Regions from separate parts of the Homo sapiens genome. Here all the other regions are linked to region 3. Evidence: promoter capture Hi-C in human tissues and cell types (Jung and others, 2019). All regions are on one chromosome and are shown on one strand. The core of a region is centred on a gene start or on the middle of the fragment in contact, and the rest is flanking DNA. Distances in the headings are between cores, read along the strand shown.

Region 1 (3,468 bases), core at 898-3,397, 1.5 Mb after region 3:
AGAAAGTGTCAGACAACCCAAATTGAGGGAGATTTTACAAAATACCTGACCGGTACTCACCAAAATTGCCAAGGTCAGGAAAAACAAGGAAAGCCTGAGAAAGTGTTACAAATCAGAGGAGACCAAGGAGACACAATAACTTTCTAATTTTTTAAATTTTTATTAATTTAATTTTATTTTTTCAGGGATATGATTTTGCTCTGTCACTCAGGGTGGAATGCCATGATGCAATCACGACTCACTGCAGCCTCAGCCTCCTAGACTCAAGCAATCCTCCCGCCTTAGCCTCCCAAGTAGAGGGGACGGTAGGCACATGCCATACACCCAGCTAATTTTTTATTTTGATTTTTTGTAGAGGCAAGGTCTCACTGTTTGCCCAGGCTGATCTCGACCTCCTGGGCTCAAGCGACCCTCCCACCTTAGTCTCCCAAAGTGCTGGGGTTACAGGCGTGAGCCACTGAGCCCATCCCTGACACATGATAACTAAATGTAATAAGAAATCCTGAATTGGATCCTAGAGGAGAAAAAAGTCTTTAGTGAAGAAATGGGTGGATCCAAATTAAAGTCTGTAATTTGGTTAATAGTATTGTGCCAGTATTAATTTCTTAGTGTTGACAACATATCATGATAATGTAAGATGTGAACATCAGGGGAAAATGGGTGAAGGATACATGAGAACGCCCTGAATACATAAAGTTATTCCAAAATAAAAAGTATATTTTAAAAGATAAAGGACAAGAAAAGACATACTATACAAATACTGATCATAAGAAAGCTAGACGGGCTTTAGTAAACATCAGGATAGAAAAAAATACCAAAGATAAACAGAGGGAAACACAGTTAATGATAAATGGAGCAATAGAAAACAAACGACAAGTTAAGACTGGAAGAAAATATTTGCAGCTCACATACTCAGTGTAAGACTTATATTCAGAAAAATATAAAGAAGTCTCAAATCTCAACAGTAAGAAGCAAAGCATCCACTTTTTTTCTTTCCTTTTTTTTTTTTTTTTGACGGAGTTTCACTCTTGTTGCCCAGACTGGAGTGCAATGGCACGATCTCCGCTCACTGCAACCTTTGTGCCCCACCGCCCCGCCCCCTGGGTTCAAGCGATTCTCTTGCCTTAGCCTCCTGAGTGGCTGGGATTACAGGTGCGAGCCAACACGTCAGGCCAATTTTTGTGTTTTTAGTTGAGAGGGGGGTTTCGCCACGTTGGTCAGGCTGGTCTCGAACTCCTGACCTCAGATGATCCACCCACCTTGGCCTTCCAAAGTGCTAGGATTACAGGCGTGAGCCACTGCACCTGGCCTGCATCCTTTTTTTTTAAAGGGCAAAAAAAGAGACACTTTACCAAAGAAATTATTCATATGGCACATATGCACATAAAAGATGTTAAACATTATCAGCCCCTAGGAAAATGCAAATTAAAATCACAATGAGATAGAGATACCATTATAACCCTATGAAAATGGCTAAAAAAAAAAGAAGACAAAGCCACATGTTCACGATGATGTGGGCCAACTGGAACTTTCATTCACTGCTGGTGGAAATGCAACATCACAGAGCCACTCTGCAAAAAAGTCTACAGTTTCATACAAAGCTAAACCAGGCGCAGTGGCTCACGCCTGTAATCCCAGCACTTTGGGAGGCCAAGGCAGGCGGATCACCTGAGGTCAGGAGTTCAAGACCAGCCTGGCCAACGTGGTGAAACCCCATCTCTACAAAAATACCAAAAAAAAAAAAAAAAAAAAATTAGCTGGGCATGATGGTGGGTGCCTGTACTACTCCCAGCTACTCAGAGGCTGACGCGGGAGAATCACTTGAACCCGGGAGGTGGAGGTTGCGGTGAGCCACGATTAAGCAACTGTACTCCAGCCTGGGCGACAGAGAGAGACTCCATCTCAAAAAAACAAAAAACAAAAAACAAAACAAAAAAAAAACAAAGCTAAACCTACACTTGCCATACAGCTCAGCAGTCCCATTCCTAGGTAATTAAAGTGAAAAAATGAAAAAGTATATTCACACAAAATCCTGTACATAAATGGTATAACTTCTCTTTTCATAATTACCAAACACTGGAAACAATGCGGCGTGGATAAACACATTGCAGTTTATCCATACGATGGGATACTACTTAGCAATTAAAAACAACAACAAACAACATGGATGAATCTCAAAGGCATCGTGCTGAGTGAAAAGACCATCTCAAAAGATACCGTGCATGATTCCATTTATATGACCTTCCGGAAAAGGTAAAACACTAGTGAGAGAGAACTAGTGATCACCGGGGGGTAGAGGTGGGGGAGTGTGAAGCACTCAAAGCAAAGGGGCACAGGGAGTTTTGGGGGTGACAGGCTCCTCTGTGTCCTGAAGGTGATGGTAGTGTCACTAATCTATACATGTTTACCCAGGGAAAGGAAGTCGACTTGACTGCATGTAAGCTCATATAATAATTATAATTGAGAACAGCAATAATAACAATGGTGAATGGCTATATTCCTACTCGCGAGTCTTTGCTCACACTGTCCCAACCTGAAAGGATCTCCTTCACTCCTGTCAGCCTATCTGTAGCAATCTCAACTAATTACTGGAATCCTGCCTCTCGAAATTCCTCTCCTTTTGAATCTCACTGGCCCAGGTGGCCCGTGACCCGAGGCGTGCTGCAAAGGCTTTGTGAAATAAGCCCCTCTGGAGTCAACCTCCTTGATGCGCTGGGGATGCCATCCTTGCCTCTGCAGAAACACTTCTCACTGCCCTCAGGTGCTCTCCAAGGGCTGCAGCTACCTCGGGTTCTGTTTCCACCAAGATTCTTGGCTGTATGGAGGAAAACCTCCCCCACCTTGCACTAGCTTTAGTAGAAGGCATTTATTGATTGTAGGACTTCACAAAGATCTCACAGAACCTGTGAGAGAAAACTGAGGAGAGTCAGGACTCAGGAATGGAGACCTGACCTCTAGCTCCCAGGCCTGCCCAGCCTCTCCTTTTCCCCATGGGTCTGCTCCAAGCCCTGGCTCTCCCTCACACCTGCTTTCTCCTGCTTGCACATCAGCTTGTACAAGGCCCCCAAGTCTTCCAGCTCCACATCACCTCCGTGCTACACACTAGCAGCAGTCTCTTTAAGTTTTCGATACCAAATCTTGGAGAGAAATATCAATTGGCTCAGCCCAACTTTTTAAATCTGCTACACAATTCTGGGCTTCGACTGGGCATTCACCTCTGGCCCAATTAGCAATTGGATAAAGAACGGGATCAAATGGCCTATGAGCTGCTCCATCGAGGGGCTGTGGCAAGAGCAGGCAATACAATAATTGCCTCTGGAATTAACTCACAGAAATGGCAGGCTACAAACACACAGCTCTCCCTGGGATGCAAAGTCAAGACTACACGTCCAGCTGCAGGAGCAACTGCAGTTTGGGGGCAGCCAGTGAAGCCTCATCTTCAGACCCATTCAGGTGGGCCAGAGCAAG
Region 2 (3,004 bases), core at 119-2,618, 1.6 Mb after region 3:
CACAAAGTGTGTCCATTTAAAGGGACATAAATCAAACTATCGAGTATACTTATTTCCTATTTAAAACTTTACATGACATTATCCTTTATTTAAAATGTATGAAAGACATATTCTAAATGAAAAATTTTAGGTGATCAACAATAGTAACAAAAACAAGAAAGTTACAAATAAATAATTTAAAAGGATGAGGACATAGCAGAAATCAGAAAGAGCATCCGAAGAACCTGGGATGAGCGTATTACTTCAACCAATAGTCAATACAGCTGTATCGCTTTTGGGTGCCAACACCAAATCATGAAAAACACAATAAGTTACAAATAGAAGTTCTTGGTTTTTGATCAAAAGCAAACTGGTTTGGTTCATGTGGTAGTAAGAAGGCTAGAAGGGACTTCACAGTCATCAAACACAAGAAAGCTTTATGAAGAAACAGTGATTAGCTTTCTTCCATCTTCATAAAACAAACAAGAGAAAAAGGGTTAAAGCACTACAAGCTGTGAAAATATTATTATAAAGGATCACCAAGGAAAAAAACAAAGATTTGTTGGGAACAGAATAGAAAGAAAAGAAGCATTAATGACTTAAGAGTTAACTAGGAGTGAGCCCACCCTTATATAAGCAAAGTTCCTCAATTTTATGATTTGCTGCCTTAAATTCCACAAATTAAAAAGAAATGTTTGTAAGTACTCTTCTTATACATAAGTGATAACCAGCACTTCTGATCCATATATCCTAAGATTTTGTAGTCATAAATATAAGATTTTTTTAATGCCTATACAAAATGTAAGAATAACTTTTTAAAGAGATATTTCTATACCATAAATTAGTATGCAGGAAATTGTTTCAAGATTATTAAATCATACAGAACAAAATTGGGCAGGACCTACTGTTTAGAAACTTCACTTTGAGCTAAATGGGGGGAGACAGGGGATCTGGCAAGGTTTCTTTAAAAGTACAGTTTTATAAATAAAAAAATTAATTTCTAAAAGTTAATACGTTAGCACAAAATATTAATGCAAAAAGTTAATATAAAAGTTTTTATTCTAAAAAAGCATTTTACCTGCCTACAATGATTGCAAATAACTTCTGTACTGGTTTAAGAATCATCAACAAGAGAGGAACCGGAGCAGCTTGAAACCGTGGAGAAGTATGGAAATTCCTAATAGCTCTTATGGAAGCAGGGCTTAGAGGATGCAATACTGACAGACTAGGGACTGCTGTAACTTCTTTTATTAGCAGCTGTCTTGAAAAAGCATCATTCCATACAGTACATTTGCTGGTAATCCTCCAAATTTCCTTACTTTTGGTACTTGAGAGGCCTCCTGTTCTTTTGTTGTTAAAAGTACTATAAAAATGAAAGTTTCCAGGCAGAAAACTCCACCTGTCACACTGATTTACTCCCAGTCCCTGATACTTATTTACTATATGGTTAACTTGTACTTGATGACAGCCCCGTGAGGTGGATGCTAATGTGTTACATTTTCTCCAGTTAGACAGTGAATTAAATCGGAAGAAAACATGGTTTCTAGCAGCAGACTGCAATCCACAGATGAAGCTCATTTTTTCACTTGACTACCTGAAACAAAAAAAAAACTATAAATATCTGTGGAAAATATTTACTTACCAAACTGGGACTATAACACTTATTAAATAGGCGTGTCAGTTGTTCTTCTAACACATCTCAGGCTAAATTACCTTGGGTTTCAACTCATCACCCCTAGAGCAACGCCTTTCAGCAAGATAAACCAGAGTATATATACCACGATATTTACTATGCAACGTTTACTTTAGAAGCTTGAATTTTTTTCATTTCATTTTTAATTTTTAGTTAGGGAAGAGCCATTTGTATTTTAATGGCAAATGATTTGAGCAATAAAGTGGATTAGATAAAAACAACAGTAAAACTTTATCAGTTTGCAATAACTGGAAGGAAGCATGTGATACAGAATAGTAAAATCTAACTTATAAAATGCACTGGACATTACGCAATGAAGAACAGTGATCCCTAACAGATGGGAAACAGAGCCCTACAACTGTCCTAGCTTATTGCCTGGAGAGTGCTTCCAGGCCACAATGCAGACAGGGTAAACCTAGGTGGAGCCCAGTGGTTCCCCTAAATCGAAGAGATAAAGCTGGGAGGTCAAGTAAACCAAGGTTGCTAGAGCTCACAGGACAGAGGACAAGAGAAGACAAGAGCTGCACAGAGAAATAACTCTAGAGTTCTGCAGAGAATCCCCCTCCCATATTCAGCTGAGTCCTGTCTGGGCATATGTGTAAGAAAATTCCCTGGAGCTGGGAAAGGGCCACCTGAAAAGATTGCAGGGAATAATATACAGGGCTCACACAGGGCATGGTATACTGCCTATCCCCTCCCCACCATTCAAAGTGGAAAACCTTATCATTCGTGGGTAGAGTACTCAGAAGGGTTTTGCCTCAACATTAGAGAAAGATTAGTCTGAGACCGAAAGCTGCTCTGGCCCCACCTAACAAATATTAAAAGCAACCCCCAAAAAGATTAAATGCTTCCAAGCAACAACTGCATCCCAGGAAAAAAAAAAAATCTAAACAGGTATTAGGACACAAAACTATTTAACACTTAACAAGGTGCAATTTATAATTAAAAATCACCAAGCATGCAAGCAGCAAGATATGTGATCCACAATTAGAAGAAATATCAATCAGTGGAAACTAACTCCTAAATAAACAAATAACAGCATTAGTAGATAAGGATATTAGTTATTGTAACTATACTGCACATGTTTAAGAAGCTAAAGGAAAATATGAGCATGTTATGTAGAGATATGTAATATATTTCTTTAAAAGACCTAAACTTTTAGACAAGAAAACTGTAAGAACTAAGATGAAAAACATACTAGATGAGACTAACAGCAGATTAACATTGTAGAAATAAAGATTTGTGACTTTGAAGACGTATCAATAGAAACCATCTAAAATGAAATACAGAGAAAAAATACAATAATAAAAAAAGGCACAGGGCATCAATGAG
Region 3 (3,333 bases), core at 371-2,870:
CTACTCTATCTCATCCCTCTCAACTTCCTGCCGGGACCTGTGTTCAAGGCCCACTGAGGTGTCTGGAAGCTTCAGGAGCAAGCCAGCTCTCTCACACTCACGCACCGTTGCCTGTGCTGCTCCCTCTACCTGGCACACCTTTCAACCCCTTAGCCATTCGGCAAACACCCACGCACCTGTAGAGATTCAGCCCTCACACTCTCTGTTCTAGAAGCCTTTCCAGGCCCTATGCCCTGTAGAGCTGATCATTCCCTCCTTGTTTCCTGGCTGCCCCGTAGCATCTTTTGTAACGGTACACATAGCATATGCTCACATGTTGGCATTCTTTGTGAGAACATAGGCTCATCTCTGTATCCTCAGAGCCCAACAGAAAGCTCCACCCAGGGGCACAATGCTATAGATAGGGTTGCTATGGTTCCCTTAAGTCCTCCATTCCGGAGACATTTTCTTGGGTCCTGAATGCTTCTCTGTGTACACACAGTACACACAAGGAAGGTCTTGGCAGCTTAGTTATTCTCTGGGCTAAATGGAGTTTCTTGATCATCCTAATAGCTGTTACTTATTGAGTGGCCAATAGATAGTGAACGAATGCTCATCATCCTGTGGTTCCTAATGGCAGCTCAACAGAACTGAGACCAGAGGCTGTGTCCCATGGGTAGGAGGTACTCCTCACATAAAGTGAAAGGTTTGTTCAGATCTCATTTTTGGACTAAGTAAAAGGAATGGAATTACAGTCCCTCTTCCCACAGGAGTGTTTACATGGAGGCCGGGGACACATGCACACTTCAACATCTCATGGCAGGGGTTTCTCATGCACACGGAGCATCCCCACATTGCTACGTCACTGGCTCTTCTATCACTGGAGCCCAAGTTTGAGCTCCCACTAGGATATTTTCTTTAGCTTGTTTTGCACCTTGTTAATGGAGACTAACAATGATGAAATAAATCAGCCAGCATTTAACTGCTGGGAACCTTGTGGGGGGTGAGAGAGAGAGAGAGAGAGAGTGTGTGTGTGTGTGTGTGTGTGTGTAAGAAGGGGGTGGGAAAGAACCTGAGAATCTGAAGATTTGGGGTTGATGAGCAGGTAGAGTAGGTCAATCTCATTTATTAAAATCATTTCATGAATTTGCTCTTTTGTCCTCTGTATGTAACAAACTTTCTTTTTCATAAAGAATCACACGGAGGCTTTGTTCAGAATACAGAAAAAATATCCTATTCTTCTCAGCATGACAAAATACATTTAAACCTGTCAGTTTCTTACAGGAACTTTTGTTGAAATCAGCTACTTGGTTCCACAATAATTTGAAAAGAGTTGTTGATAGTATGTTATCAGATGCATGCAAATTGCCTTAAGAGACGTTCCTCATTCAATAGGCATGCAACAAAGAGATGGTCAGCATCATGTGGCTGCACCTTCCCTGTCATATTATTGATCAGGGAATTATTGGTAACTGTCACTTACCTGGAGCCAGGCAAACTGAGACAGCCCAGGGCAGCACAGAGAAGAAATAGCTCCACCGGCGCCCTCCAAGCCCATGTCCTGGAATTCTTCATTTTCCCAATGTGACAGGAGATGCCACAGAGGCTGCTAGACCCATAACAAGCCTGTGCTGTGAGTGCCACTGTCAGCTTCTGTCCCCAAGAGCAAATAGCTCTGCAAAGTAAACAGAAAGCCACTAGTGACTGGAAACAGACTTTGCACAGACCAAAAACTTACCTGTCACTCTGGAAACCAACCAGAATAATGAAAAATCTGTAGCAGCATGGTGTTTATTCCTCTGTAACTTTAGGGTAAGCTGCCAAGTGGACAGGCTATTAGTGAGGTGGCAAGGACTGTGGGATCTAGGTCTAGACAGCCTGGGTTCAAGTACATTCTCTGCCACTGACTAGGTTGGTGCAAAAGTAATTGCAGTTTTTGTCATTGCTTTTAATGGCAAAAACCACAATTACTTTTGCACCAACCTAACAGCTTTGGACTATGGGCAAGTTGCTTTACTTCTGTGCCTTACTCTCCTTACTTGCTAAGTGGTGAGAATTAAACACGTTAATATAAGGAAATGTTTAGAACAGGCCTATGTTCAGCGCTCAGATATGTCAGCTATTATTACTTAGTAGAATTCAGGGTTTGGAGTCAGACAGGCCAAGGTTTGAATTCCATGTTTGCCTCTTTCCAGTTACATGATGTTGAGCAAGTCAGTAAGAGGCTGTAGGGCTCTAGAACCCATCTACCTGACTTCAAATTGCTTCTGTATGATTCACCAGCTGTGTGGCCAGAGAAAATTACTAACCCTCTCTGGGCCTAAGTTCCTTCATCAATAAAACAGGGATAATAATAATACCAACCTCACCGGGTTGTTGTGAAGATTAAATAAATTAGATTATTATTAATTATTATTGTAATTATAATTAATTATAATTATTATTATTAAATAAATTAGATTTATTTAATCTTCACAACATGTTCAAAACATGTTGAACATTGCCTGGCACATTCTATGTGCACTCTCTATAAGTGAGCTGGTATTTTTATTGACTGTCTCTGATTCTGTTTCTTCATATGTAAAATTAGGAGGACTATGACAACTTACCACTCACAGTTGGGAGAGTCAGACCAAATACTAAATGTGTAATTGTTGAACAAATAGGCATTATAGAAATAACTACATGACACTTTGGGAGGCCGCGGCGGGCGGACCACGAGGTCAGGAAATCGAGACCATCCTGGCTAACATGGTGAAACCCCGTCTCTACCAAAAATACAAAAAAAATTAGCCAGGCATGGTGTTGGGCGCCTGTAGTCCCAGCTACTCGGGAGGCTGAGGCAGGAGAATGGCGTGAACCTGGGAGGCAGAGCTTGCAGTGAGCCGAGATCGCGCCACTGCACTCCAGCCTGGGTGACAGAGCGAGACTCCGTCTCAAAATAAAACAAAACAAAACAAAACAAAAAAAACCCAGGAAATAACTACATGAAAATAATTATCTAAATATATATGTGCTGTTGTTGTTATTGTTTGCATCCCAAAAGATACAAATGACTGAGGTTCTCAAACCTACCTTCCTGAAAACCATCCCTGACTCCCCAGAATCAACATATTAAAGTCCAAACTGCACCAACCTGGCATTTACAAAACCAACCTGCAACGCATAAAGGGCTGAGTCCACGTGTTGGATGGCGTCCTGTTGCTTTTGCTATTGCAGATGTGGGTGAGGAACCTCACATGGGAGAGGCAGCTTGCAAGGTATGAGGGTGGGCTAGTAGAAAGAACACTGGATTTGCTTTCCTTAAACACAGTTACAGAGTTTCTCTAAGACTCTGTTTTCTCATCTGTGAAA

What was found. Contacts are between HindIII fragments. The study calls those that stand out against the background at their distance.
Region 1: a fragment that was not itself captured here is called in contact with the fragment with the promoter of C8B in region 3 in 1 of the 25 tissues and cell types used here (IMR-90 fibroblasts).
Region 2: a fragment that was not itself captured here is called in contact with the fragment with the promoter of C8B in region 3 in 1 of the 25 tissues and cell types used here (hippocampus).

What each region holds. Positions count from the first base shown.
Region 1 is chr1:58,450,924-58,454,391 of GRCh38, forward strand. It overlaps a transcript of DAB1 not described here. Among named protein-coding and RNA genes, the nearest start is that of OMA1, 94 kb to the right of the region's middle. The HindIII fragment of the contact is 5,428 bases long and covers 1-3,468 here.
Region 2 is chr1:58,537,738-58,540,741 of GRCh38, forward strand. OMA1 (OMA1 zinc metallopeptidase) reads right to left here. Exons shown (of 9, transcript NM_145243.5): 2 at 1,058-1,573. The coding sequence starts at 1,557. It also overlaps a transcript of DAB1 not described here. Among named protein-coding and RNA genes, the nearest start is that of OMA1, 7.5 kb to the right of the region's middle. The HindIII fragment of the contact is 4,039 bases long and covers 1-3,004 here.
Region 3 is chr1:56,964,395-56,967,727 of GRCh38, forward strand. It overlaps C8B (complement C8 beta chain), which reads right to left and starts at 1,621. Exons shown (of 12, transcript NM_000066.4): 1 at 1,463-1,621. The coding sequence starts at 1,554. The region is part of intron 1 of LOC112267900 (a long non-coding RNA gene); the gene reads left to right. The HindIII fragment of the contact is 9,311 bases long and covers 1-3,333 here.